7 separate regions of the Homo sapiens genome follow, and regions 2, 3, 4, 5, 6 and 7 are each linked to region 1. Evidence: promoter capture Hi-C in 16 types of primary human blood cells and fetal thymus (Javierre and others, 2016). All regions are on one chromosome and are shown on one strand. Each heading gives the region's core, a stretch centred on a gene start or on the middle of the fragment in contact. The rest is flanking DNA. Distances are from core to core; before and after follow the strand shown. Region 1 holds the start of RPS21 (ribosomal protein S21). Region 2 overlaps OGFR (opioid growth factor receptor). Region 3 overlaps TCFL5 (transcription factor like 5). Region 4 overlaps LOC105372717 (a long non-coding RNA gene). Region 5 overlaps COL9A3 (collagen type IX alpha 3 chain). Region 6 overlaps TAF4 (TATA-box binding protein associated factor 4). Region 7 overlaps NTSR1 (neurotensin receptor 1).

Region 1 (3,732 bases), core at 1-2,500:
CCATCGGCCTTGGCCAATCGGAGAATGGAATCATCTGACTCACCCTTAAGAAAAAAAAAAAAGCACACTAAGAATATTTCCACTCCGGCTGCCTGAGATGGCAGAAGGTCAGCTGTGCCACCAGCCCACGTCTCTCCCCCGCTGAGCGAATGGAGACAGGCGCAGAAGGGGAGCCACCTCTCCCGGGGCAGCCTGCAGCCTGACTATGGTGGAGCGGGGTCGGGGGGGCACCTCCTAGTGAGAGGCAGAGTCTGCTGCCTGAGTGTCTTCTCAGAGCACCCCTCTTCCACCCTCAAGAAGCGGCAGGCGGCCAGCCCAGTCCAGCTGGCTCAAACTACTCTGCCAGCAGATCTACTCAGGCACCATCACACACTCCAATGCGCACGGTAAAGTCCACGATGTCCCGAAGTGATGAGCAAAGCCCAGGGAAACACTCACCATCCTACGAATGGCCCCGCAGATAGCATAAGTTTTAAACTGGCCATTAAACCTGCCTGTGACCTTGTCAACCTAGAAAGAGAAGAAGGGTCACAAACCACTCCCCCAGGTTTGGGAAACACCAATCCTCAAAGCCAGCCTCTGCCTGTACCTTCACCCCAGGGGCTCCTCCACAATGGGACAGCCTGCCTTTCCCGCACATATATCACAACCTTCCCGCCTCCCGGGCTCCCAGCTCACCTCGGCCACGTTCATCTGGATGGATGCGTGGTCCTTGGCACCGATGATGCGATTGCTAGCGGAGCTGTGGAGAAAGGGCGCAGTGAGCAGAGGGGACTTGGGCGGTAAGAATGAAAGAGGGGACGAGGGAGGTTGGGGGTATATGAATGGAAAAGAGTAACGTCGGGGGCAGGACAAGTTAGGGACGTGACGAGGTAAGGACGGGAGGGGTGTGGGGGAACAAGGGCAGGCGAGGGGACGTGGTGGTTAGGTAAGGACGGAAGAGAGGCATGTGGGGGGCGCTTACCATTTCCGCGGCACGTACAGGTCCACGAACTCGCCGGCGTCGTTCTGCATTTCGAGGCTGGGCTGCGCCTGGGGAGTCACCGCGCGGCGCCGTGAGTACGGCCGGAACCGTGCCCCGGCTCCCGGCGCAAACCGGCCCCTAGGGTCACGGCCCCAGCCGCACCCAGCACCCCGCACCCCGTCCCCCGCGTCCAAGCCCCCACTCCCGCCCCAGCCCCAGCCCTGAGCCCGAAGCCCGCGCCGCGCGCCACACCTGCTGCCACCACACCGCGCGCGAGAGAGAAAGGAAGCAGCTAGTCACCCGGCAGAGATATCGGCGGGCAAGGAGGGGCCTCGGCGAGCGCTTCCGGGTCACGCCACCACAGCGAGTCTGCGCGGTGCGTGCTTGCCGGCCGTCGCCGTGACGCACTTCCGCTTCCGGCAAGGAGGTTCTCGGACCCCAGCCTGCTGGCCCTGGGGCGCGGGGCGTCGTGGGGGTCGTTGTCGTTGAGGGTCGTTGCCGTGTGTGGCGTCTTAGCCTGGCCCCTGGGTTGTGCCCCACGGACGCAGTCGACCCCTCTGAGCGCCTCGGGAGCCCCGAATAGCAGCTGGGAGAAGGGGCGAGGACTGAGCCTCGCTGCCCGCTGCCGGCCGGGCTAGAGATACGGGCGTGCCCCCCATTGTGCGCCTCCCGCCCTCCGGTCCCCTCACCCTGCGGCCACCTGGGGCGTGGGGCGGTGCTCCTGCCCGTGCACGTAGCCGCTGCGAGCGGAGGCCTGCTCACCTGGTGCCTGCTACTCACTCCCCCGGGCCGGTGGGCGAAGGACACCCGCAGGAACTCGGCAGAGGAGAAATTCAGACGGCTCCCGAGGGTAGGAAAAGACCCCGGCCCACCGTGGAATCTGAAACACCCGACCACTCTGCCATCCCATGTTTCACCAGTCAGACCCCCAGGGCAGGGCAGGGGAAGCAGAATGCAAACTGGGGCACCGTTTCCCTGAAGCGTGTTGGCCGCGTTTGTCGTAGTGCTAGAGGTGCATACCCTTGGACCCCGAAAACCCATTCCTGGGAATTTGCTCCAAGGAAGTAAAGATGTTACAAAGATGGACCCACGAAGTATGGTCGTTGGTTATGGGTGGGGTCTTGAGGAAGGCCTTGTTAGTAGCCTGAACCCTGTTGCCAGGAGAAGCTCCAAACCGGTAGACGGAGGGAGCAGCGCGGCCTATGTTGGGGTCTTCTCTGGGCGGGGGACATGATCCTAGGATGTAGAACTAGCCTCAGAAAACTTAAGACTCAGTGGCCAGGTGCGGTGGCTCAGGCCTGTAATCCCAGCGCTTTGGGCGGAGGTGGGTGGATCACCTGAGGTCAGGAGTTCGAGACCCGTCTGGCCAACATGGTGAAACCCCATCTCTACTAAAAATACAAAAAATTAGCTGGGCGTGGTGGCAGGCGCCTGTAGTCCCAGCTACTCGGAAGGCTGAGGCAGGAGAATGGCGTGAACCCGGGAGGCGGAGCTTGTAGTGAGCTGAGATCCCGCCACTGCACTCCAGCCTGGGCGACAGAGCAAGACTGCGTCTCAAAAAAAAAAAGTTTTTTTATGTTTAATTTTTTGGGTACATAGTGGGTGTGTACATTTATGGGGCACATGAGATATTTTCATACCGGCATGCAGTGCGTAGTAATCACATGGGGTATATGGAGCATCCATCACCTCAAGCATTTATCCTTTGCGTTACAAATAATCCAATACTATACTCTTTTAGTCATTTTAAAATGTGCAATTAAATCATTATTGACTGTAGACACCCTGTTGTGCTATCAAACACTAGGTCTTATTCTTTCTGTCTTTTTATACCCATTAACCATCCCCATTTGCCCCCCTCCTCCCACTGTTCTACCCTTCCCAGCCTCTGGTAACCATCTTTCTACTGTCTGTCTCCACAAATTCAATTGTTTTAATTTTTAGCTCCCACAAATAATAGTGCTGTGATAAACATCGTAGCACATGTATCTCTTCCTTTCTTTCTTTTTTTTTTGAGACAAAGTCTCGCTCTGTCACCCAGGCTGGAGTGCAGTGGTGCGATCTCGGCTCACTGCAACTTCTGCCCCCAGAGTTCAAGTGATTCTCCTGCCTCAGCCTCCTCAGTAGCTGGGACTACAGGCATGAGCCACCACACCCGGCCAGGTATCTCTTTCATATACTGATTTCCTTTCTTTTGGGTATATGCCCAGCAGTGGGATTGCTTTATTTATGGCAGCTCTATTCTTAGTTTTTGTTTGTTTGTTTGTTTGTTTGTTTGTTTGTTTGAGACGGAGTCTTGCTCTGTCTCCCAGGCTGGAGTGCAGTGGTGCGGTCTTGGCTCACTGCAACCTCCACCTCCCAGGTTCAAGCGATTCTCCTGCCTCAGCCTCCAGAGTAGCTGGGATTACAGGGGTCTGCTACCACGCCTGGCTAATTTTTGTATTTTTAGTAGAGATGGGGTTTCACCATGTTGGCCAGGCTGGTCTTTAACTCCTGACCTCGTGATCTGCCCGCCTTGGCCTCCCAAAGTGCTGGGATTACAGGCGTGAGCCACTACACCTGGCCTACCAAACATTTTTTAAAGAACTAATACCAATCCTACTGAAACTATTCCAAAAAATAGAGGAGGAGGGAATGCTTCCAATCATTTTATGAGGCCGGTATTATCCTGATACCCAAATCAGACAAAGACACATCAAAAAAAGCAGATTAGAGGCCAGGAGTGATGGCTCATGCCTGTAACCCTAGCACTGTGGGAGGCTGAGGCA
Region 2 (3,982 bases), core at 1,483-3,982, 430 kb before region 1:
CCCCTCCTCAGTGGCTCTCCCCTGGTCCCTGGCCCCACACCCCACTTTGCCTATCCCCATGATGCCCAGCATGCAGTCAGCAAGGACTGCTATCTGACCCAAATCAGACAAAACACAGCTGGCCTTCACCTCAGGCCAGGGGAGCCACCTCATGCCTGGGACACCTGCTTGGTGTCCCCCCCGAACCACCTTCAAGCCCCTCAAAAAACCACCCCCAGCTCCAGGCAGATCCTAGGCAGAGGGTGGGCACTGTCAGAGCTCAGCCTCCCCCGGCTCACTTTTGAGTGGGGCAGAGCCTCCTGCTGCCCGCCTGTTGTGGGTCATCACTCTCCCTGAAGCCCGGGTTGGCTGGCCAGCACTGCCTGCTGTCCCCAGGTGCCCACCGCCAGGCATCGGCCCCCAGGGCTGCTCCAACAGGCTCCTCACTTCAGGCGCTGATTTTCACCGACTCCAGCCCCACAACGGCCTGGACTGGGGACGCTGGATCTGCCGGGCGCTGCCCCAGTGACTGCACTTCTAGCCCTATGTCCAGCTCACTGCCTCAGTTTCCCTCCATGGCAGGAATCCCCTGAGCCACACTTGAGGCACCAGGGGTCCCACAGCTTCCCCACGCAGCTCTGGGGGATTATTGAACCTCGGGTGTCTCCTCCCAGTGACTTCCGGCTCGTGTATCCTGTGCCACCAGATGGGAGCTGGGCATTTTACCTGAAGTGGTACCAGGGTCTACAGCTTTAACCCTCCCACCCAGGGGTGCCCCAGGTCTGCCCTGTCCTTCACTGAGCAAAGACAAGTGTCCGGCCCCTCCTCTGAGGCCCCACAAAAAGCCCCTTACCCTGCTGATGTAGAAATGTAGGGGAACCGGGAAGCGGGGGGTCCTGGCCCAGGGTGACAAGGGCAGACTGCAGGGAGGGACTGCCCTGGGGGCACACCTGGCTCCACCAGACCTGAGGGAGCCAAGGGGCCCGCCAGAGAGTACTGCCAAGCCTGCCCGAGGCACAGCAGCGCATCCCAGATCACAGCAGGCAGAAAGGCCTGGTCCAGACCCCACCATGCACAAGCACTGCCCCGGCCAACCCCAAGGGAAGCCCCAGACTCATCTTGAACAGGTGGCAAAAGCCTGCTGAGGGACCTCGGTTCCACCTTCAGAGGCTCTGGGAGGCTGCAGCCTGCCCACCTGTTCATGCCTGGGGACTGTGTGGCCAAGTGGGTGTGTGGGGAGGGCTGGGCCACCACTCTGCCCCCACAGGCACCTGGTGGAGCAATGTGAGGCGGTCGCCGGGCCAGGCCACTGGAGCCTGGAGGGACATCAGCTGTGACACCAGCCCTACCAGCCACCCAACAGGACCCCGGTCCATACCAAAGACTCAAAGTCAAATGAATTTATTCAGAAAAGGCCTTGCTTGGTATCAGACTAAGAAAAGCAGCCCTGCCCGCCGCCCCCCACTCCAGAAGGGTCAATTTACAAAGACAGGGGCGCAGGGGAGAGCTGGGTGGGGAAGACACAGCCAGGCCAGGAGGCTTCTGCAGGCCTTGGGCTTCCCTGAGGGCCTCGCGGCTTCTGGTGGCTGCTATAGTGGCCCCACAGGAGGCCAGCACTGTGGGTCATGGGTCACGGGTCACGAAGCAGAGCCTGAGGGGAGCCCGCAGCAGCTCCGGAGGCCCCAGCCCCTGCAGCAGGGACAGGAGGACCAAGACGCCGACGGGCACTCCTTTCCTTAAGGCTTCCCAGACTTGGCAGAAGACTCCACCTCTGCGTCCTGCAACTCTGCTGCCTCCCCCGCCTTGGCTGGCTCATCCCTTGTAGGTCCTGCCGGGCTGGGGCCTGGGGTCTCCGATGGGCTCTCGGCTGGCTCGTCCCCTGCAGGTCCTGCCGGGCGGGGGCCTGGGGTCTCCGATGGGCTCTCGGCTGGCTCGTCCCCTGCAGGTCCTGCCGGGCGGGGGCCTGGGGTCTCCGATGGGCTCTCGGCTGGCTCATCCCTTGTAGGTCCTGCCGGGCTGGGGCCTGGGGTCTCCGATGGGCTCTCGGCTGGCTCGTCCCCTGCAGGTCCTGCCGGGCGGGGGCCTGGGGTCTCCGATGGGCTCTCGGCTGGCTCGTCCCCTGCAGGTCCTGCTGGGCGGGGGCCTGGGGTCTCCGATGGGCTCTCGGCTGGCTCGTCCCCTGCAGGTCCTGCTGGGCTGGGGCCTGGGGTCTCCGATGGGCTCCCAGGGGTACCTTCTTTGGGCCCCGTTCGACCTTCTGTGTCCTCCTCAACCCCGTTCTCACTGTGTCCAGCCTTGGGGTGCCCCGATGGGGCAGGGGACCCGGCAAGGGCCAAGGTCTGGGCACCACCACTGGCCACCGCAGCACTGTCCCCAGCACCCTCATCCACCTTCCTCCGCTTCCTCACCTTGTCGGCCACCCTGGCTCCCAGGGGTTGGCGGCAGGGCTGCACTGCCTCCCCAGGGTCCTGACCGCCCACTTCCTGGGTCCCCGTCCTGAGGCTGCCCTGGCTGAGGGCACACCCCTCCAAATTCAGAGCGATCTTCTCCACCTCTGAGGCACTCTGAGGGCCTGGCTCTGTGGGCGGCTGCTCCCGCCGGCTCAGCTCCAGCTTCCTCTTCTTGCTCTCTTTGGGGCTTAAGGGCTCCGGCCTATCTTCCCCGTGGCCCCCTGCCTCATCCCCCTGGCTCCTCTCCAGGGGTCCCGCATCCTGGGGCTCCACGCTCCGTGGCTGGGGCCCCTCGTCCACCCTGCCCCCACCCTTGCTATGCTCTGGCCCACAGGTCCGACCCTGGGTGCTGGCCTCGTGGTCGGGGTCCCCGGGGCTTCCTTCCTCCTCCACCTTCCTGGAGCCCTCGAGCGGATGGGGCAGAGAGCTGGGCTTGAACCTCCGCAGCTTGTCTTGGGGCCCCCAGACGAACTTGCAGCGGGGCCGGAAGTGCTCCCAGGCGAAGTGCACCAGCTGGCGGCGCTGGTGTCGGCAGCGCACGGCGAACATGAAGTAGTCCAGGGCACTCTGCCGCACCCCCGGCAGCTCCCGCCGCACCAGCGTCTCCTCCAGGAAGAAGCGGACCAGCGGCGCCTGGAAGTGCTCGAGGCCCAGCTCACCCAGCGACTTGAGGATGCGTGTGATGCGGAGGTTGTTGTGGCTGCGCCTGCGAGAGATCCGGGTCAGGAGAGGTCAATGGCTGGGGCCCCTCCTGCTGGGCCGCACCCCGCCCTGGCCTGCCCTCCCACCCGGCTCCACGAGGTCTCCCCACCCTGGCCCACGATTCAGTCTCTCTCTCCATTTACCTCTCTGGGCCCAGGGGAGGACTCATGCCATCCCTGTGAAAATGGCCTGTGGGCCCTAGACACACGGGGGTTAGGGGGATGCTGACGCATCACCTAGAGGGTGGCTGTACCCCGAGTCCCCCTGGTGGGGAGGAGCTGGCTGGATGAGAGCCACAAGGGGCCCCTGCAGGGTACAGGCGCCTCGAACACCCTGTGAGAACTGGCTGTACCGCCTGCAGGTTCTCCATCACCCCTGCTTGCTTCTCTATGTGGACTGCCACCTCCTGGGTGCAGGAAGAGCATTCTTTACCTTCTCACCAACCCTATCGGGGAGGGACCGCCCGGCTCTACAGGCAGCAAGGAGGGGACTCAGGGCCTTGGTCCATTGCCCAAACAGCCCTGGAGTTCTCCGTCTGCAGCAGCGCTCTGTGACCTGCCCGAAACCTGACGTGGCCCTGTTCTGCGCCGGGGTGGGGGTGGGCGGGAGCAGCCGGGCCTCACCAGTTCAGGTTCTGGAAGCGCTTCTGGTAGTTCTGTGCTCGGCCCACCGTGCCCGTGCCTCGGTCCTCCAGCCGGATCCCGTAGAAGCCCAGCATGAGCTCGTAGGCCCGGACAAGCCGCTCCTGGATCTCCTGGGAGCTTTTAAACACCTGGAAAAGACCCCCTTGGAGAGCTCAGGCACCATCCCTGAAGCCCCGGTTCCTGAGTGTGGGGGTGGCCGTGGGTCCC
Region 3 (4,068 bases), core at 212-2,711, 470 kb before region 1:
GATTTACTCTTGTTGCCCAGGCTGGAGTGCAATGGCACGATCTCGGTTCAACGCAACCTTCGCCTCCCAGGTTCAAGCGATTCTCCTGCCTCAGCCTCCTGAGTAGCTGGGATTACAGGCATGCGTCACCACGCCCAGCTAATTTTGTATTTTTAGTACAGGAGGGGTTTCTCCATGTTGGTCAGGCTGGTCTCGAACTCCTCACCTCAGGTGATCCACGTGCCTCGGCCTCCCAAAGTACTGGGATTACAGGCTTGAGCCACTGCGCCTGGCATGGCAATTTCTTTTAAAGGGATCTATTCAAACTTGCTGGGGCAGGGTGCAGTGGCTCATGACTGTGGGCCGAGGTGGGAGGATTGCTTGAGCCCAGGAGTTTGAAACCAGCCTGGGCAACATAGCAAGTCCCCGTCTCTAAAGAAAAACCAACAATACTAGTAGTGGTGGTGTTGCACACCTGTCGCCCCAGCTACTTGGGAGGCTGAGGTGTGGGAGGATCACTTGAGCCTGGGAGGTCAGCGCTGTAGTCAGCTGTGATCATGCCACTGCACTCCAGCCTGGGCCACAAAGTGAGACCCATCCCCCAAAGAAAGAAAATTAAAAAGCTAGCTAATATCTTTTTATGATACTTTTATACACATGGACTAACTGAGGGCCTTCCTCACCCTACTGTGAATTATGAAGGGCATTTTGCTCCGACATTTATTTAATAGACATTTATTGAGTACCTGCTATGTGGAAAGCCTTACACCGTACGTTGACAGTTTGAAAGTTGGACTTCTAGCTCTACTGCGTAGACTTGTGGTTAGAGTTCAGTGAGCTGATGTGTAAAGAGTGTTTCGCTCAATGTCTAGAAGTCCAAAAGCACCTAGTAAATGCCAGCTGCTGTTTTACTGGCAAAGTCTCTAATTAAAGTTCTAAATAGACGGGTGTGAAGGTGAGTAACAAGGGCCATATTGAATAAGTTGCTCAGTATCTGCTTGTTTAGGACTTTGCATGTTACTGAATGTAATATGTAAAAGTTTAAAAAATAGTCTAATAACAAGACTCCAATTGTTTATCTCTACAAAGACCAAGTTTCAGAATATTAACAGAGTGTTGGGCCGTGATCCTTTCTGAATCAGGGCCCCTTGGAGAAAGCTGTGCACGAGTTCCTGGTAGGGTATTTAGCCCGTGAAGGGCAAGTAATATCAGTCTTGAATGACAGAGTTATCTGCCCAATTTGGACCCCTCAGTGGTCCAAATGGAAGAAGGTGTCAGACACAAAATGTTGCTTCCAGTTTCAGGGGCTTTGGAGCCATCCCTAATCTAGAGACTTGAACCTGGCCCGTGAGAAGTAAAGAGGGAAAGCTCCAGGGAGCTTGTGGGTCATGGGGCCGCCAAGGGCACCCGAGGATGCTCTGGCCTCTGGAAGGCAGTGGCTGCCTCTGTAGACAAGGCCGTGGCAAAGCCGTGGGGCTTCCTGTGGTGACAGGCGCTTCCGTGGCACTCAGTGGCCAGGATGCACGAGCTCTGGTTCCCTCAAGTACTACAGGAGACGCTTCCTTTTACATGTTTGTTTTGCTCCGGTCTCTCTCGGTGATGACTTTGGGTTTTGACTATAGGCGCAGAATCCGCATTTGCTGTGATGAGTTGAATCTCTTAGTGCCGTTCTGCAATGCCGAGACTGACAAGGCCACAACTCTGCAGTGGACCACAGCATTCCTGAAATACATCCAGGAAAGACATGGAGATTCTCTTAAAAAGGTTAGTGGTAGGCCAGGTAGATTTTCAGAATTTTACAAATTTTACTTAACAATGTCCCTCCTTTTTCCTAAGGATAACTCAAACTATCCTTTGTTTCCTGGAATCTAACATCAAATACTAAGTCCAGTATGAGCAAAGCTCTGCTCTTTAATGATATAACTTGTCATTTATTAAAGTAATAGTCACAGCCTACATGTGTTACACTCAGTGTGTAAATAACTGTGAAGAGGCAATTGTCAGATAGCAAATTGGGCACCTGCTGTGTACGGTATATTGCACTGGGGCTGACGGGTGTGTAGGACATGATATTTGCCCTCAGAAAAACTTGTGAAAGGGATAAAAGCAAGAATAGAAAAACAAAAACCGGCCAGCCACAGTGGTTCACGTCTGTAATCCCAGCACTTTGGGAGGCTGAAGTGGGAGGATCTCTTGAGCCCAGGAGTTTGAGACCAGCCTGGGCAACATGGCAAGACCCCATCTCTACTAAAAAATACAAAAATTAACCTGGTGTGGTGGCGTATGCCTGTAGTCCCAGCTGCTCGGGGCGGGGGCTGGGAGGGAGGATCAATTGAGCCAGGGAGGTCGAGGCTGCAGTGAGCTGAGATCATACCACTGCACTCCAGCCTGGGCAACAGGGCAAGACCCTGCCCCACCCCCACCCACCCCAAAAAAGAAAGAGAAACAAAAATGCAGATAAGTGTCAAATAGTCTGATCTGGACTTCAAATATGCCCAGCAGGTTAATAAGAAATATACTTCTGTGGACTGGGTGCATATACTTCTGTGGACTGGGTGCATATACTTCTGTGGACTGGGTGACTATACTTCTGTGGACTGGGTGACTATACTTTTGTGGACTGGGTGACTATACTGTGGACCGGGTGACTGTACTTCTGTGGACCGGGTGACTATGCTTCTGTGGACCGGTGACTGTGCTTCTGCGGACCGGGTGACTGTACTTCTGTGGACCGGGTGACTATGCTTCTGTGGACCGGGTGACTATACTTCTGCGGACTGGGTGAATGTACTTCAGCCGACCGGGTGACCATGCTTCTGCGGACTAGGTGACTATACTTCTGCGGACTGGGTGAATATACTTCTGCTGACTGGGTGAATGTACTTCTGCAGACTGGGTGACTATACTTCCATGGACTGGGTGAACATACTTTTGTGGACTGGTTGACTATACCTTTGTGGACTCGGTGAATATACTTCTGCGGACCGGGTGACCGTGCTTCTGTGGAATGGGTGAATATACTTCTGCGGACCAGGTGACTATGCTTCTGTCAACCAGGTGAATATACTTCTGTGGACCGGGTGACTGTACTTCTGTGGACCGGGTGAATATACTTCTGTGGACCGGGTGAATATACTTCTGTGGACTGGGTGACTAGGGAGGAGCCGGCGTGTTAGCGCCAGCATATGCAGTCCCTCAGGACAGCCAGCCTGCCGTGATCCTGTCTGTGTGGTCGTGGCAGTGGCCTGCAGCAAGCCATCGTGGTTGGCTGGAACTAGACGTGTGATTTGAATGCAGGAGTTCAGTCAGCCCCTCAGTGGCCTAAAAGGAAGAAGGTGTCAGTCACAGGGCTGGTTCTGGGCCCTGCCTTGGGGGGACCCCAGTTCCAGGGTTCTGGGCCCTGCCTTCAGGGGACCCGAGTTCCAGGGTCCTGGGCCCTGCCTTTGGGGGACCCGAGTTCCAGGTCCCGGCCTCAGCGTTGCAGTGGCCAGGGTCAGTGGCTCTTTGGCCCTCTAGGAGTGAGCAGACCTTAGTGAAATAGATCCACAGGGTCCTGACTTTGTACCTGGTCCAAGCTGTTGGGGAATTGCTGCTGTTGACCCAGGCAGGAGTCTGACTAGAGAACAAACTAAGGTTGCTGCAACAAACAAGGACCTCTTCCAAGAAGGGCTCCCAGGCCTGGCGCAGTGACTCATGCCTGTGATCCCAGCACTTGGGAGGCCGAGGCGGGTGGATCATTTGAGGCCAGGAGTTCGAGACCAGCTTGGCCAACATGATGAGACCCCCGTCTCTATTAAAAATACAAAAATTAGCCAGGCGTGGTGGCGCCTGTAGTCCCAGCTACTCAGGAGGTTGAAGCAGGAGAATTGTTGAACCCGGGAGGCGGAGGTTGCAATGAGCCAAGATAGCACCACTGCACTGCAGCCTGGGTGACAGAGCGAGACTCCATCTCAAAAGAAGGGCTCCTGTGTCTACGTCATGGTGGGGCTAGAGAGAGGTCCCCGCAGCTGGGCTGTGTTGAGTGAGGGCTCGTCTCTTCAGCGCCAGGCAATAGTTTGTCTTGTCTCTGTCCCTTTTCTGTGTCCACAT
Region 4 (3,631 bases), core at 91-2,590, 480 kb before region 1:
TCTCTCTTCTCCCGCCTCTTCAGCAAGAAGCAGATGCACATTTGGACGGTTCGATTGGATGCTGCCTATACATTGTGTATAAACTGAAGTTAGGGGAGGTACTCACCACAGTTCCTGCCATTGGTTTTAACATGGAAAGAGTAGAATATAAGAACACTTGTTTTGGGCCAGGCACGGTAGCTCATGCCTATAATCCCAGCACTTTGGGAGGCCGAGGCAGGCAGATCACAAGGTCAGGAGTTCAAGACCAGCCTGGCCAATATGGTGGAACCCTGTCTCTACTAAATATACAAAAATTAGCCAGGCATAGTGGTGGGCTCCTGTAATCCCAGCTACTCGGGAGGCCGAGGCAGGAGAATTGCTTGAACCCGGGAGGTGGAAGTTGTAGTGAGCTGAGATTGCGCCATTGCACTCCAGCCTGGATGACAGAGCGAGACTCTGACTCAAAAAGAGAACACTTGTTTCATGGTGTGGGATGTTCATGGTCAAGATGTAATTAGGCTTCTCTGGAAGCATTACTTCCAGAATACCCAGGGTTTTCTTTTGCTGGTAGATAGCAACGATCATGAAAGAATTCGGGAAGTGGCGGACGCGCTGCAGAAAAGGCTTCTGGCCGGTGAGTGTGGAGACGCAGCGCCACTGCTCTCTGCAAACAAACAGGGTTTGCCCAGCGCTCGGGCCATCAGTGTGACGACAGATGAGCCAGCCAGCTCTTCAGTCTCTTCCTAACAGGACATGGTATGTTCAAGCCACTTGTGCAACACGGAGCTGGTGTAGATGAGGGACTTGACTGGCTGTCAAATGAGTTTTCAAAACGTTAAATGAAACTAGACATCTAACCAAAGACATGTTTGATAAAATTGGTCTAGACTTGCTACAGCAAAATTTGTTTGTATCTTGGTTAAGAAACAGCATCTGGGACTGGCTTGGGCAGAATAATAAACTTATTTTGTTGCCAATTATTGTTTGCCAAATATAATGTTGTTATTTAGCAATGTGCTTGGTTTTAAAGAAATTCTTCTTGGGAAAAAGGTGTCCTCATTTACTTCCCATGAGCCTAAAGCCTGGACATAGTTATTGTAAAACCTTTAAATAAATCCACCTTGGAAGTTAAGATACATAAAAATAAATAAGGTGGGGCGTGGTGGCTCACGCCTGTGGGAGCACTGTCTGTGAGGAGGTGAATCCCTTGAGCTTGTTGGAGACAAGGCTGGGCAACATGGTGAACCTTGCCTCTATTTAAAAAAAAAAAAAAAAAAAGGCCGTGCACGGTGGCTCATGCCTGTAATCCCAGCATTTTGGGAGGCCGAGGCGGGGGGATCATGAGGTCAGGAGATCGAGACCATCCTGGCTCACATGGTGAAACCCCAAACCCCGTCTCTACTAAAAAAATTAGCTGGGCATGGTGGCACGTGCCTGTAATCCCAGCTACTCGGGAGGCTGAGGCAGAAGAATCGCTTGAACCCAGGAGGCGGACGTTGCAGTGAACCAACATCGTGCCACCGTACTCCAGCCTGGGTGACAGAGACTCCATCTAAAAAGAAAAAAAAAGAAAAAAAAAATTCGGCTGGGCACGGTGATTCACACCTGTAATCCCAGCACTTTGGGAGGCCGAGGCAGGCAGATCACTTGAGGTCAGGAGCTCGAGACCAGCCTGGCCAACATGGTGAAACCCTGTCTCTACCAGAAAAATACAAAAAATAGCCAGGCATCGTGGCATGTGCCTGTAATCCCAGCTGCTTGGGTGGCTGAGGTAGGAGAATCGTTTGAACCCAGGAGGCAGAGGTGGCAGTGAGCCGAGATCGCACCACTGCACTCCAGCCTGGGTGACAGAGCAAGACTCCGCCTCAAAAACAAACAAATAAATAAATAAATAAATAAATAAAATAAAGCACTGACTCACCATTTTCTTTTCCCAGATTATCCAGAGCACTTGGGCAAAAGCCTCCACCCCATTTTTACTAGAATGTTCAATGGCAGCCTTGGTTCCAGAGGCACTTGGTTGAATTTTGCCCATTGATGCTCATTTGCATGAATTATCAGCGCCTCTTTCCCGTGAGAAACGGTTACCAATGCTTTTAAATCAAAGGCAATCAAAGATCCAGCTCCAGAAAACCCAGAACCAGCTTTGATCACTCCACATCACGGAACAGAAAAATCAATTGGCCCAGGAGTCCAAGAAGCTACAGGAGGATGAGAGGAAGGGGAGCAGTTGCCGGCAGGCCTGGTGACCCTGCCCTGCTCAACCTTCCAAGAATTTGAGAGAGAAAGAAAGAAAAAAAACCCTGCTTGCTGCGGTCTGAGTTTGTATCCCTCCAAGATTCATACTGAAACCTAATCTGCACTGTGGTGGCATTAAGAAGAGGGGTCTTTAAAACAATGGCCGGGTGCGGTGGCTCACGCCTGTAATCCCAGCACTTTGGGAGGCCGAGGCGGGCGGGTCACCTGAGGTCAGGAGTTCAAGACCAGCCTGACCAACATGGTGAAACCCTGTCTCTACTGAAAATACAAAACTATTAGCCAGGCGTGGTGGCACGTGCCTGTAATCCCAGCTACTCAGGAGGCTGAGGCAGAAGAATTGCTTGAACCCGGGAGGCAGACGTTGCAGTGAACCGAGATCATGCCATTGCACCCCAGCCTGGGCAATAAATCGAGACTCCATCTCAAAAAAATAAATAAATAAAAAATAAGAAGAGGGGCCTTTAGGAGGTGACTAGGTCATGACGGGAGAGCCATCATGAATGGGATTAGTGCCCTTTTACAAGAGGCCTGGGGGAGCTGATTTTCTCTCTCTGCCACATGAGGATGTGGCAGGAAGGCAGCATCTGAGCGGAACAGGCCCTCATCAGCCATCACATATGCTGGTGCCTTGATCTGGGACTTTCCAGCTTCCAGAACTAGGAGCAATACATTTTTGTTGTTTATAAGTGACCCAGTCTAAGGTGTCTTGTTATGACAGCACAAATGGACTAAGACACTGCTGGGTTTTTATTGGAACTGCATACATCAGTTTTGGGAATAACAGACATCTTAACACTATCGAACCTTCCAATCCATGAACATAGTATATCTCTATATTTGTCCATCTTTTTAATTTATTTCAACAGTATTTTGTAGTTTTCAGTGTACAGTCTTTTACATCTTTCATCAAATTTATTTCTAAGTTTTGTTTTTTTTTTTTTTTTTTTTTTGAGACAGTGTCTCACTTTGTCACTGAGACTGAAGTGCAGTGGCACGATCTCGGCTCACTGCAACCTCTGCCTCCCGGATTCAAGCAATTCTCCTGCCTCAGCCTCCTGAGTAGCTGGGATTACAGGTGCCCGCCACCACGCCCAGCTAATTTTTGTATTTTTTTGTAGAGACAGGATTTCGCCACGTTGGCCAGGCTGGTCTCGAACTCCTGGCATCCAATGATCCGTCCATCTCAGCCTCCCAAAGCGCTGGGATTACAGGGCTAACATTATTTAAAAATAATTTTGGGCTGGGTGGGGTGGCTCATGCCTGTAATCCTAGCACTTTGGGAGGCCGAGGCAGGTGGATCACAAGGTCAGGAGTTCAAGACCACCCTGGCCAATATGGTGAAACCTGTCTCTACTAAAAATACAAAAATTAGCCAGGTGTGGTGACGGGT
Region 5 (4,024 bases), core at 86-2,585, 450 kb before region 1:
GGACCGCGGTATCCAGGGGGTCCTCGAGCGCCAGGGTGACCAATGGAGCCTGGGGGTCCTGGGGGCCCAGGGGGGCCAGCTGGACCGGGCCGACCAATGGACCCGGGTGCCAAAGGCTTCCTTAGGTGCGCGGCTAACTGTGCAATTTGTTCTTTGGGAAAACAAGGGTGCAGGCGTTTACTCGAGAGAGGATCATCAGAAGTATTGTTACGTAAAGCATAAAATATCTACACGGTGCTGTCTTCCAGAAGCAAGTTTTCCTTCTGATTGATGGAAAATGGTTTAACTGCTTTGGGGTGATGAATGCTGGAGCTAGAAAGGACCCCCAACCCCTTGGAGCCTGAGAAGCCTGAGTGGGAAGGTGAAGGAAGTGCCCTTGGGGGTGTTTAGGGACCTGCCCTGCCAGCCACAGGGGCACACTCCGCTGTTCTTGTACCCATTGCATTCAGCAGGCTTTAGGGCGTCTGCTGCGTGCTGGGAATCTGGTTGAATCCGGGGCGGGAGCGTGGGCCATCCTCTAGCGCAGAGGACAGGCAGACGCCAAGGCGGACGTGGACCCCCAAGGGCTAACAGGCGGGGTGAGTGCTAGGGGCTCACTTTGGCTGGAAAGCAGTGGCACGAAGGCTTTCTGTGTAGCCCCAGGCACGGGACCCCCAGGCGGGGATGGGCCCCGCTGCAGCCGGTGCACGTGGCTGACTTACCGCTGATCATCCCCCCACACAGCTCCCTGATGCGCTGCTCGCTGGCCTCCTTCCCCTGGAATTCACCCCACACATTCGTCAGCATGGGGGCGGCAGCCTCGGTGAGGCATTCCCACCGTCACCCCGCAAAGTAACTTCCTTCCGGAAAAAACACGATCTCAACCCTGTGAAAGCTGGAAAAGCCGGAAAAGCGACGTACCGGAACTCCCGGCTTCCCCGTGATGCCAGGAACACCCGGGACGCCCTGCAGGCCCAGAGGACCGGGGGGCCCGGGGACACCCTGAACACCGCTGGTGCCGTTGGGACCCTGGGTGCCTTTGGGGCCCAGCTCCCCTCGACTGCCAGACTGCAGAGGAACAGAGGAAGGTGGGTCAGGGGCGAGCCCAGGAGCCCAGAGCCACCCCGACGTGCTCTTTCCCAGCCGGCACGGAGCCGTCTTGCCCAGCCTTGACCAGAGCAAGCTTTTTTACATCTCGGATCTGGGCAGTGCCCTGCAGGGCTGCCTGGTTGCCCAGAGGTGGGCAGGAAGCCAGCAGGCGCCCATGGATGGTGTCATCGGAACAGTCGCCGGGCACTCACCTCTCCTTTGGGTCCGACCAGGCCGCTGGGACCCTGTGAAGAGAAAAGTTGTGTGTTTGAACTAAGTGTATTGTTGGGTGGGTGGGAAGTAGCCAGTTGAGGATAAAATAAATCAAATCATCCACACACCTGCTATTAGACTACATCCAAATATTGACAGTGGTTCCTTCCGTTCTTCTATATACATTTTTTATATTTCTGTGATTGCACTGATTGATTGAAGCTTTTTAAAAACTTACTTTCCTGGGAAGAGTGACTTTGTTAGCTGCACGGTGCTGTCTCTTACACACGCTTACTTTGCTTCCATTCCTTTTTCTTACTAACACGCCTAATGCTGGGCTGAACCTCTCTGCCCTAAAACCCTGGAACCCCCTCCAGCTGGGTCCTCAGGAATGACTGGCCCCAGGTGCGTCAACACACAGTCAGCCGGGTTAATGTCTCCTCCAAAACACATGCTGCAATTGAACGGCCACTGCACTGCAATGCTATTAAGAGGTGATTAGGTTTGAGAGCTCGGCTCTCCGGAGTAAACTAACACCGTTGTCTCCGCAGTGGGTTCCTCATGAAAAGGATGGGTTGGGCCCCTTTCTCTCTCTGGCACCTCCTCTTGGCCCTTCTGCCTTCCACCATGGAATGACGCAGTGGGGAGGCCCTCGATGGATGCACCCCTCGGTCTTGGGCTTCCCAGCCTCCAGAACTAGGAGCCACATGGATCTCTTTCCCTTGTAAACTACCCAAGCTGCGGTGTTCTGTTACAGCTGCAGAATACAGACTGACACAGTCTAACCGCACAGCAGAGGGACCGACCGGGCCCAGACAGCATGCTCCGCGGAGGCCAGGAGGGTAGGGGGTCACCTCACACAGCCCGACCGTGCGAGTAGCTGAGAGCAAAGCCTTAGGTTTTCCGCCTGCAAGGGGCTCTGCCCCTCACCCCACCAGCAACAGTGGCCACGTAGGGCAGCTTCTGGGATTTCCAGGGTCCATTTGTCAGTGTTGTCTAAGAATTCACTAAATGGGCTGGGCGAGGTGGCTCACGCCTGTAATCCCAGCACTTTGGGAGGCCAAGGCGAGCGGATCACAAGGTCAGGAGTTTGAGACCAGCCCGGCCAACATGGTGAAACCCCATCTCTACTAAATACAAAAATTAGCCGGGTGTGATGGTGGGCACCTGTAGTCCCAGCTACTCGGGAGGCTGAGGCAGGAGAATCGCTTGAACGCAGGAGGCAGAGATTGCAGTGAGCTGAGATCACACCACCGCACTCCAGCCTGGGGACAGAGCAAGACTCCGTCTCAAAAAAAAATAAAAAAAGAATTCACTAAATGAAACACATACAACTGAGGTCTTTTGTCCCCAGGCATAAAAAGTTTACACTGGGCTGTGGGGGTCTGCCAGAGACTGGGGTCCCTGGGGCTAGGCTGTTTCTATTTCACCCAGACGCAAAGGAAAGACTTAATCATAGATGAAAACCCCCCTCGGGAAAGCCAGAAAGGCCGTCCTTCCCTCGGACTCACGACTGCTCCATTTGTTACCTCCAGAAGGAGAAATGTGCCTATCAAGGGACTCAAACAAGAACGTAATTTTATGCTTCACCTGAGTTTTAGGCCTGTGGAAGTGGAGTTTTCTTCAGTTAAAAACCAGCTGTGGGCCTGACACGGCGGCTCACGCCTGTAATCCCAGCACTTTGGGAGGCTGAGGCAGGTGGATCACCTGAGGTCAGGAGTTTGAGACCAGCCTGGCCGACATGGTGAAACCCCGTCTCTACTAAAAATACAACAATTAGGCCAGGGGCGGTGGCTCGTACCTGTAATCCCAGCACTTTGGGAGGCCGAGGCGGGCAGATTGCCTGAGGTCGGGAATTCGAGACCAGCCTGGCCAGCATGGTGAAACCTTGTCTCTACTAAAAATACAAACATTAGCTGGGCGTGGTGGCAGGCGCCTGTAATCCCAGCTATTCAGGAAGCTGAGGCAGGAGAATCGCTTGAACTGGGAAGGTTGCAGTGAGCCGAGATGGCGTCACTGCACTCCAGCCTGGGCGAAAGAGCGAGACTCCATCTCAAAAAAAAACAAACAAAACCCCCCAAAACACAAAAAATTAGTCGACTGTGGGAGGGCCTATAATCCTGGCTACTCAGGAGGCTGAGGCAGGAAAATCGCTTGAACCCAGGAGGCAGAGGCTGCAGTGAACCGAGATCGCGCCACTGTGCTCCAGCCTGGGCAACAGAGCAAAACTTCGTCTCAAAAAAAACCCCCGGCCGGGCGCGGTGGCTCATGCCTGTAATCCCAGCACTTTGAGAGACCAAGGCGGGATGATCACGAGGTCAGGAGATGGAGACCATCCTGGCTAACACGGTGAAACCCCGTCTCTACTAAAAATACAAAAAATTAGCTGGGCATGGTGGCGGGCGCCTGTAGTCCCAGGTACTTGGGAGGCTGAGGCAGGAGAATGGCGTGAACCCGGGAGGCGGAGCTTGCAGCGAGCCGAGATCGCGCCACTGCACTCCAGCCTGGGTGACAGAGTGAGACTCGTCTCAAAACAAAAAACAAGAAACCCCAAAAAACCAAAAACAAAAAAACAAAAATGCAGCTGTGACTGCTTCATGCAGGTGCCACTCCACGGGGCAGAGTGCGGGAGCCCACACGTCTGAGCACCGGGTCAGGTCAGACTCCAGAGCCGCTGAGTTTCCCTGCCAGGCCCTGCCCACTTGCTAAGGGATGGCCAGTGGCCAAGGCCTCTGCCCGACCC
Region 6 (3,763 bases), core at 361-2,860, 350 kb after region 1:
TCTTTCCACCAGCTTATTTGCTCATTTGCCTATCTTCTTTCGGGAGGTGTCTTTTCAAATCTTTTGTCTGTGTGTTTTAAATTGGGTTGTTAGTTTTGTCATTATTGATTTAGTAAGAGTTTAAAATGTATTTTCTAGATGTAAGTAATTTATCAGATAGAATTGTTCTGTAACTATTTTCTTGGTCTGTGTTTGCCTTTTCTTTTAGCTGCATGCGTTTTAAAGTGCAAGTTTTCAATTTTAAGGAAGCCCAATGTATCATTTTAAGAATTCATTTTGTGCCTTCTTAAATAAATCCAGTGTATCATTTTAAGAATTCGTCCTGTGCCTTCTTAAATAAATCCAGTGAGTCATTTTAAGAATTCATCTTGTGCCTTCTTAAATAAATTTTTGCCTAACCCAAGGTACAGGAGTTTTCTAGAATGCTTATGGCTTTAGCTCTTACTCAACCCAATTCAAGTTAATTTTGGGAGAGTTGTAAGGTAGGGGGTTGAGACTCATTTTTTCTGTGGTTACCAATCATGCCAGCCTTATGTGTTGAGGAGACCTTCCTTTCTCTATTGAACGATGCTGCTGCCTTTATTGAAACTCAGTCGGCCACGTGTGAGGACGTCACTTCTGGGATGTGTTCTGTCCACTCATGTCCTTGTCTTCCCTTCTGCAGCTCAGCACTTTCCAGCCCATTTAGAGGGAGTGTTGATGGGTGGCAGGAGTCCTCCAGTGCTGCTTTTTCGAAAACGTTGAGGGCTGTTCTGGTCGTTTGCATTCATGTGTTTCAGAATCAGTTCGTCAACTTCTACAAAAAAAGCCTCTTGATACCTTGATAGCTTTTTGTTTGTTTTGAGACGGAATTTTTCACTCTTTCACATCTTTTCCTGGAGTGCAGTGGCACGATCTTGGCTCACTGCAAGCTCCGACTCCCGGGTTCAAGTGAGTCTCCTGCCTCAGCCTCCCGAGTAGCTGGGATTACAGGCACGTGCCACCACACCCGGCTAATTTTTGTATTTTTAGTAGAGATAGGGTTTTGCCGTGTTGGCCAGGCTGGTCTTGAATTCCTGACCTCAGGTGATCCGCCTGCCTCAGCCTCTCAAAGTGCTGGGATTACAGGTGTGAGCCACTGGGCCTGGCCAATACCTTGATATCTTGCTTGGGATTGTATTGAGTCTATAGATCGGTTTTATGATCATTGATATCTTAGCAATATCGAGTGTTCTGATTCACGAACGTGTTGTACCTCTTCATTGATTTAGGCCTTTCAGGATTTTTCTCAGGGTTGTTTCAAGTTCTCAGTGTTTGTATCCTGAACATACTTTGTTAAATTTATTCTTAAGTATTCATATTTTATGCCATGTACGTGGTCCTTTAAAAAATTTTGTTTCCAATTGTTGCCAGTATTTAGAAAAACAATTGCTTTTGGCCGGGCGCGGTGGGTCAGTGGCTCGGTGGCTCAGTGGCTCATACCTGTAATCCTAGCACTTTGGGAGGCTGAGGCGGGCGGATCATGAGGTCAGGAGATTGAGACCATCCTGGCTAACACTGTGAAACCCTGTCTCTACTAAAAATACAAAAAATTAGCTGGGCATGGTGGCACACGCCTGTAGTCCCAGCACTTTGGGAGGCCGAAGCTGGTGGATCACGAGGTCAGGAGATCGACACCATCCTGGCTAACACTGTGAAACCCTGTCTCTAGTAAAAATACAAAAAATTAGCCGGGCGTAGTGGTGGGCTCCTGTAGTCCCAGCCACCTGGAGGCTGAGGCAGGAGAATGGCATGAACCTGGGAGGCGGAGCTTGCTGTGAGCCGAGATCGCGCCACTGCACTCCAGCCTGGGCGACAGAGTGAGACTCCGTCTCAAAAAACCAAAAAAAAAACAACAAAAAAATTGCTTTTAAAAATAGTGACTTTATAGCTCTTCCCCAAGCGGCCTGAGATGATCTGTGAAAATGGTTCATTAGTCACTTGACCCAGAAATCCCCACAAAATCGTGCAAATCCAGAGGTTCAGGTCTTCTTGATCACTTTAAGAACGCTCGTGAAACTGCCCAGGCCATCAAGGGTATGCATACGTGAGAAGTCACCAAGTGTCTGAAAGACGTCCCTTTATAGAAACAGTGTATGCCATTCCGACTTGGCAGGGGTGGAGCTGGCAGGTGTACCTAGGCCAAACAGTGGGGCTGGACACAGGGTTGGTGACCCGAAAAGAGCGCTGAATTTTTGCTGCACACAATTAAAAATGTGGAGAGTCACACTGAATGTGAGGGTGTAGATGTAGGCTCTCTGGTGTTTGAGCACCCAGGATGCGCTGTGGGACTTCCAGGGCTGGTGGTCGGGTTCATCCATACAGGGCGCCCCGTCACATTGAGACGATCCTCACGGTAAAGACACTTGTTCCCAAGCCAGGTGAGGAAGTTGCACAGAGGAAAACTGTACCAGAAGAAACTGAAGAAACAAAAACTTGTGGCATGGGAATAAACTCAGCATACAATAAATGCAATTAAAATAAAAAAAATTGACTTTATATCCTGTGGATTTCTTAGGATTTTCTTCAAAGATAGGCGTGATCTGCAGTAAAGAGTGGTTCATGTCTTTTTTTCTGGTCTGTGCACCTTTTATTTCTTGTTCTTGTCTCATTGCACTGGCCACAACCTCCAGTGTAATATGACAAACAGAAGCGTTGAGAAGGGACATTTTGCCTTGTTTCTGATCTTGGGGGAGGCAGTCTGTCTTCTCTCATGACGCACATGATGTCAGCTGCAGGTTTTTCATAGAGGCCCTGTGTTAGGTTGAGGAATCCCCTTCTGTCATAGGCCATTCTGGCTGCTGTAACAAAATACCATAGACTGGGAGGCTTCTAGACACCGGAAATTCATTTCTCACAGTCCTGGGAAGTGCAAGATTGCCATGCTGGTGAGGGCCTGCTGCCTGCTCCCATGCAGCTTCTTGTGTGTCCTCAGAGTGTGGAAGGAAGGGGCAAGGCAGCTGTGGGACAGGCTCTTTCATAAGGGCGCTAATCCGGTTAATGAGGGCTGGGCCCCCAAAGTCCCCCCGCTTCTGCTACCATCACCTTGGGGATTGGGTTTCAGCATATGAATTGTGATGGCATTCAGTCTATGCACCTTCTTTTCCTAGTTTGGTGAGAATTTTTGTCGTGAGTGGATGTTTATTTTTGTTAAAATGCTTTTCTTCCTGTATTGGGATGCTTGTATGGTTTTTCTTTTTTAGTCTGTTAACATGGTGAATTACACTGATTTAATTTTGAGTGTTAAACCCTGGCGAGTTCCTAGCATAACCCCTGTTGGTCACATGTATTATCCTTTTTATATACAGTTGCATGCAGTTTGCTACAGTTTGGTGTGTAGGTTCAGGAGGGATACTGGCCTGTCATTTCCTTGCAGTTTGTCTTGCAGTACTGCATGAGTAATGTTAGTTGCAACAGTTCACTTGCCTCCCAGCAGTTTCTGTTATTTTATATCCTTGATAGCACTGGGTGTTGTCAGACTTTTCAATTCCTCGAATCTGGGGGTGTAAAATGCTCTGATAGTGTTGTCTTAATTTTCACTTAAAAATTAATTAATGAGCCAGGCGCGGTGGCTCACGCCTGTCATCCCAGCACTTCGGGAGGCCGAGGCGGGTGGATCACCTGAGGTCAGGAGTTCGAGACCAGCCTGGCCAACATGGTGAAACTCCATCTCTACTAAAAATACAAAAAATTAGCCGGTTGTGATGGCGGGTACCTGTAATCCCAGCTACTCAGGAGGCTGAGG
Region 7 (3,570 bases), core at 762-3,261, 370 kb before region 1:
GTGGGCTCAGAGACCCACTGCACCTGAGGCACAGAGACGTGGGCTCAGAGACCCACTGCACCTGAGGCACAGAGACATGGGCTCAGAGACCCACTGCACCTGAGGCACAGAGACGTGGGCTCAGAGACAGGACATGGGCTCAGAGACCCACTGCACCTGAGGCACAGAGACGTGGGCTCAGAGACCCACTGCACCTGAGGCACAGAGGCGTGGGCTCAGAGACCCACTGCACCTGAGGCACAGAGGCGTGGGCTCAGTGGGGGAGACATGGGCTCAGAGACCAGACACAAGCTCAGAGAGGGAGAGACGTGGGCTTGGGGAGGGAGCATAAGCTCAGAGACAGGACACAGGCTCAGAGACAGGACACAGGCTCAGAGAGGGAGAGACATGGGCTGAGGGAGGTAGACACTGGCTCAGAGACATGGGCTTAGAGACACAGAGATATGGCCTCAGAGAAGGAGACACGTGGTCTGAGGGAGATGCAGGGAGACATCCCATGTTCATGGATTGGAAGATTTAATATTGTTAAGGTGTCAGTACTACCCAAAGCACTCTACAGATTCAATGCAATCCGTATCAAATTTCAAGAATGCTTTTGGCAGAAATAGAAAAATCTGTGCTAAAATTCATATGAAATCTCAAAGGATCCCGGACAGCCAAAACAATCTTGTAAGAAAATAAAGTTGGAGGTCTTACACTTCTTGATTTCAAAACTTACTACAAAGTTACAGTGTGGTGCTGGCATAAAGATAGACACGTAGACCAAGGGAATAGACTAGAAATCTCAGAAACGAACCCTTACCTTTATGGTCAAGTGATCTTCACCAAGACCATTCAGTGGGGAAAGGACAGTCTATTCAACAAAGGGTGTTAGGAAAACGGGACATCCACTTGTATGAAGGTGGATCCTCCCCTCACACCATATACAAAAATGGACTTGAAGTGGATTAAAGACCTGAACATAAGAACTAAAACCATAAAACTCCTAGGAGAAAACATAATTACTTTACAACATTGATTTTGGCAATGATTTCTTGGGTATGACACCAAAAGCACAGGCCACAAAAGAAAAAAGTAGATAAATTGAACAACATAAACACTGAATTTCTGTGTATCAAAGGATGCCATCAGGAGAGTGGAAGTCAGCTCACAAAAAAGGAGAAAATATTTGCAAATCACATCTGATAATGAGTTAACCTTGAGAGTATAACTCCTAAAACTCAACATGAAAACAAACAATCCAATTCACAAATGGGCAAAGGACTCAGACATTTCTCCAAAGAAGATACAAATGGTCAACAAGCACATGAAAGATGTTATTAATCATTAATCTTAAATCACTGGAGAAATGCAAATCAAAACCACAACGAGATGCCACCTCAAATCTATTAGGATGGCTACTATTAAAACAACAGGCACACACTGGGACCAGGACACACCTTGGATGTTGGCAAGCCAGCCGTCCTGAGCTGGGGCTGGTCCTCAGGGTTCCGATAGGATGGGCGTTGCCCTGCTGTGGGCTTCGCCAGCCCTGAGAGCTCCGTGTCCAAAGCCCTGGCTGGTTCCCATGAGCAGGGAAGGCTGAGCCCAGAGCCAGGCTCTCTTAGGGTAATGTGCTTGGCTATGGGCCTCTCCTGTGACTGGCCACACCCTCAAACAAGCCCTGAAAATGGGCCAGCACCAGGGAGGAGCTCAAGCCAAATGCTTCAGGCAAACCAAACTGAAGACCTGGGTCTCAGGCATGAAAGGGCTTCATTCTCTCCAGTTCCCATCACACTCTCCAAGCCCTGTGTTGTTGGCAGCGTCTGCCCTGCCCCTGCCCCGCCTTCTTGCCAAGCACCTCCCACCACAGGGCCTTTGCTCCAGCCATCCCCTCGCCTGCAGCTCTGTTGCCCAGATGGGCTCCTGGTCCTTGGGACTTGCAGGATGCCACCTGCTCTGAGAGCCCCTCCCAGCTGCCAGATGTAGTCAGGGGTGGTGGTGGTGGTATTTTTTTCTTCATGCTCATCACTGGCTGAAGGTGCCTGGTGCCTGTGTTTGTGTCCTTGGTGGAGCCCCTGTTCCCCCAGAGTGCAGGGATGCCCCTGCCTCTGCTGCCTCCATGCCTGTGAGCAAGAATAGGCGAGACCCAGGGTGGGCACTCAGCCAACTGCTGAGCAAATGAATAAGTGAGCACGTGAGCAAGTGGACAGATGGACAGAGAGATGGATAGATGGAGGGAGGGAGGAATGGAACAAGGGAGGGAAGGAGGGATGGAAGGAGGGATGGATGGATGGAATGAGGGATGGAGGGAGGGAGGGATGATGGGTGGAGGGAGGGAGGATGGATGGAGGGAGGGAGGGATGGATGGAGGGAGGGAGGATGGCTGAAGGGAGGGATGGAGGGAGGGAGGGAGAGATGATGGCTGGAGGGAGGGAGGATGGCTGGAGGGAGGGAGGGAGGGAGGGATGGAATGAGGGATGGAGGGAGAGAGGGATGATGGAGGGAGGGAGGATGGATGGAGGGAGGGAGGATGGATGAAGGCAGGGATGGAGGGAGGGAGGGAGGGATGGAATGAGGGATGGAGGGAGGGAGGGATGATGGAGGGAGGGAGGATGGATGGAGGGAGGGATGGACGGAGGGAGGGAGAATGCATGGAGGGAGGGAGTGATGGACGGAGGGAGGATGGATGGAGGGAGGGATGGAGGGAGGGAGGATGGATGGAGGGAGGGAGGGATGGAGGGAGGATGGATGGATGGATGGAGGGATGGATGGAGGGATGATGGATGGAATGATGGATGGAGGGAGGGAGGGTGGATGGAGGGATGAAGGGAGGAAGGGAGAGAGGGATGGATGGATGGAGGGAGGGAGGAAGGAAGGGAGGGAGAGGTAGAGGAATGAATGGAGGGAAGGAGGGAGAGAGGGATGGATGGAGGGAGAGGTAGAGGAGTGAATGGAGGGAAGGAGGGAGAGAAGGATGGATGGATGGAGGGAGGGATGAAGGGAGGAGGGAGGGGTGGAGGGATAGAAGGAGGAAGGGATGGATGGATGGAGGGAAGGAAGGATGGATGGAGGGAGGGAGGGAAGGATGGATGGATGGAGGGAGGGAAGGATAGATGGAAGGATGGAGGGAGGGATGGAGTGCAGAATGGCACTCACCCCTCGGGGGAGCTGGCACCCTTGGGTCTTGGCCTGACAGCTCCATCCCTATGTCTTTAAACCTTGCCCAGGCTTGGGGTGGTTCAGCGCTCGCTGCCTTTGCTAGCCCTGGCCTGCCTCCCGCCCCTGGAGGGCCCAGAGGTTACGTACGTAGGACGCGCACGCCGTGCCGCAGGGCCTGGACCCTGCCAGGCTCGATGGCCATGCTGAATGTGCTGTGCTCGCCCCCGACCGTGCACACTTGGCCCTGCTCGGCCGCCTGGCGTACCATGACGGTCAGCTTGTTGGCGATGATGGTGTTCAGGACCGAGATGACCACCATGGGGAATATGAAGGACATGAAGGTGTTGACCTGCAGGAGAGGAAGGGCGAGGCTGTCAGAGCCAGCAGCGGGACTCATGCACCCTCAGCTGGGATGCCTGCCGTGCTGAT

The links. Contacts are between HindIII fragments. The CHiCAGO score rates a contact against its expected background, and 5 or more counts as called.
Region 2: a contact is called between a fragment that was not itself captured here and the fragment with the promoter of RPS21 in region 1, in 12 of 17 cell types (total B cells, megakaryocytes, naive B cells and 9 more). The highest score is 13.2, in total B cells.
Region 3: a contact is called between a fragment that was not itself captured here and the fragment with the promoter of RPS21 in region 1, in 5 of 17 cell types (neutrophils, total CD4 T cells, M0 macrophages and 2 more). The highest score is 9.7, in neutrophils.
Region 4: a contact is called between a fragment that was not itself captured here and the fragment with the promoter of RPS21 in region 1, in 1 of 17 cell types (neutrophils). The highest score is 8.6, in neutrophils.
Region 5: a fragment that was not itself captured here is called in contact with the fragment with the promoter of RPS21 in region 1 in 2 of 17 cell types (erythroblasts and M0 macrophages); the score reaches 5.8 in erythroblasts.
Region 6: a contact is called between a fragment that was not itself captured here and the fragment with the promoter of RPS21 in region 1, in 2 of 17 cell types (neutrophils and megakaryocytes). The highest score is 10.1, in neutrophils.
Region 7: a contact is called between a fragment that was not itself captured here and the fragment with the promoter of RPS21 in region 1, in 1 of 17 cell types (M0 macrophages). The highest score is 5.5, in M0 macrophages.

Annotation. Positions count from the first base shown.
Region 1 is chr20:62,384,621-62,388,352 of GRCh38, reverse strand. It overlaps RPS21 (ribosomal protein S21), which reads right to left and starts at 1,250. Exons shown (of 6, transcript NM_001024.4): 1 at 1,217-1,250; 2 at 965-1,032; 3 at 679-742; 4 at 439-510; 5 at 1-44. The coding sequence starts at 1,014. RPS21-DT (RPS21 divergent transcript) reads left to right here and starts at 1,364. Exons shown (of 1, transcript NR_186459.1): 1 at 1,364-2,050. RefSeq lists enhancers at 401-1,092, 1,093-1,784, 2,063-2,112 and silencers at 973-1,162, 1,593-1,712. The HindIII fragment of the contact is 6,470 bases long and covers 1-3,732 here.
Region 2 is chr20:62,811,383-62,815,364 of GRCh38, reverse strand. It overlaps OGFR (opioid growth factor receptor), which reads right to left. Exons shown (of 7, transcript NM_007346.4): 6 at 3,755-3,903; 7 at 1,365-3,135. The coding sequence ends at 1,716. Among named protein-coding and RNA genes, the nearest start is that of COL9A3, 3.7 kb to the left of the region's middle. RefSeq lists an enhancer at 1-135. The HindIII fragment of the contact is 7,148 bases long and covers 1-3,982 here.
Region 3 is chr20:62,851,691-62,855,758 of GRCh38, reverse strand. TCFL5 (transcription factor like 5) reads left to right here. Exons shown (of 6, transcript NM_006602.4): 5 at 1,602-1,743. Among named protein-coding and RNA genes, the nearest start is that of TCFL5, 8.1 kb to the left of the region's middle. The HindIII fragment of the contact is 5,585 bases long and covers 1-4,068 here.
Region 4 is chr20:62,869,440-62,873,070 of GRCh38, reverse strand. All of the region lies in intron 1 of LOC105372717 (a long non-coding RNA gene), which reads right to left. It also overlaps the pseudogene ARF4P2. Among named protein-coding and RNA genes, the nearest start is that of TCFL5, 9.4 kb to the right of the region's middle. The HindIII fragment of the contact is 6,367 bases long and covers 1-3,631 here.
Region 5 is chr20:62,833,210-62,837,233 of GRCh38, reverse strand. COL9A3 (collagen type IX alpha 3 chain) reads right to left here. Exons shown (of 32, transcript NM_001853.4): 27 at 1,281-1,313; 28 at 901-1,047; 29 at 702-756; 30 at 1-151. Among named protein-coding and RNA genes, the nearest start is that of COL9A3, 18 kb to the right of the region's middle. RefSeq lists enhancers at 246-1,445, 2,969-3,924, 3,925-4,024. The HindIII fragment of the contact is 341 bases long and covers 1,165-1,505 here.
Region 6 is chr20:62,036,137-62,039,899 of GRCh38, reverse strand. The region is part of intron 1 of TAF4 (TATA-box binding protein associated factor 4); the gene reads left to right. It also overlaps the pseudogene RPL17P48. Among named protein-coding and RNA genes, the nearest start is that of MIR3195, 27 kb to the left of the region's middle. The HindIII fragment of the contact is 5,228 bases long and covers 1-3,763 here.
Region 7 is chr20:62,754,605-62,758,174 of GRCh38, reverse strand. It overlaps NTSR1 (neurotensin receptor 1), which reads right to left. Exons shown (of 4, transcript NM_002531.3): 2 at 3,289-3,490. Among named protein-coding and RNA genes, the nearest start is that of LINC00659, 20 kb to the left of the region's middle. The HindIII fragment of the contact is 5,247 bases long and covers 1-3,570 here.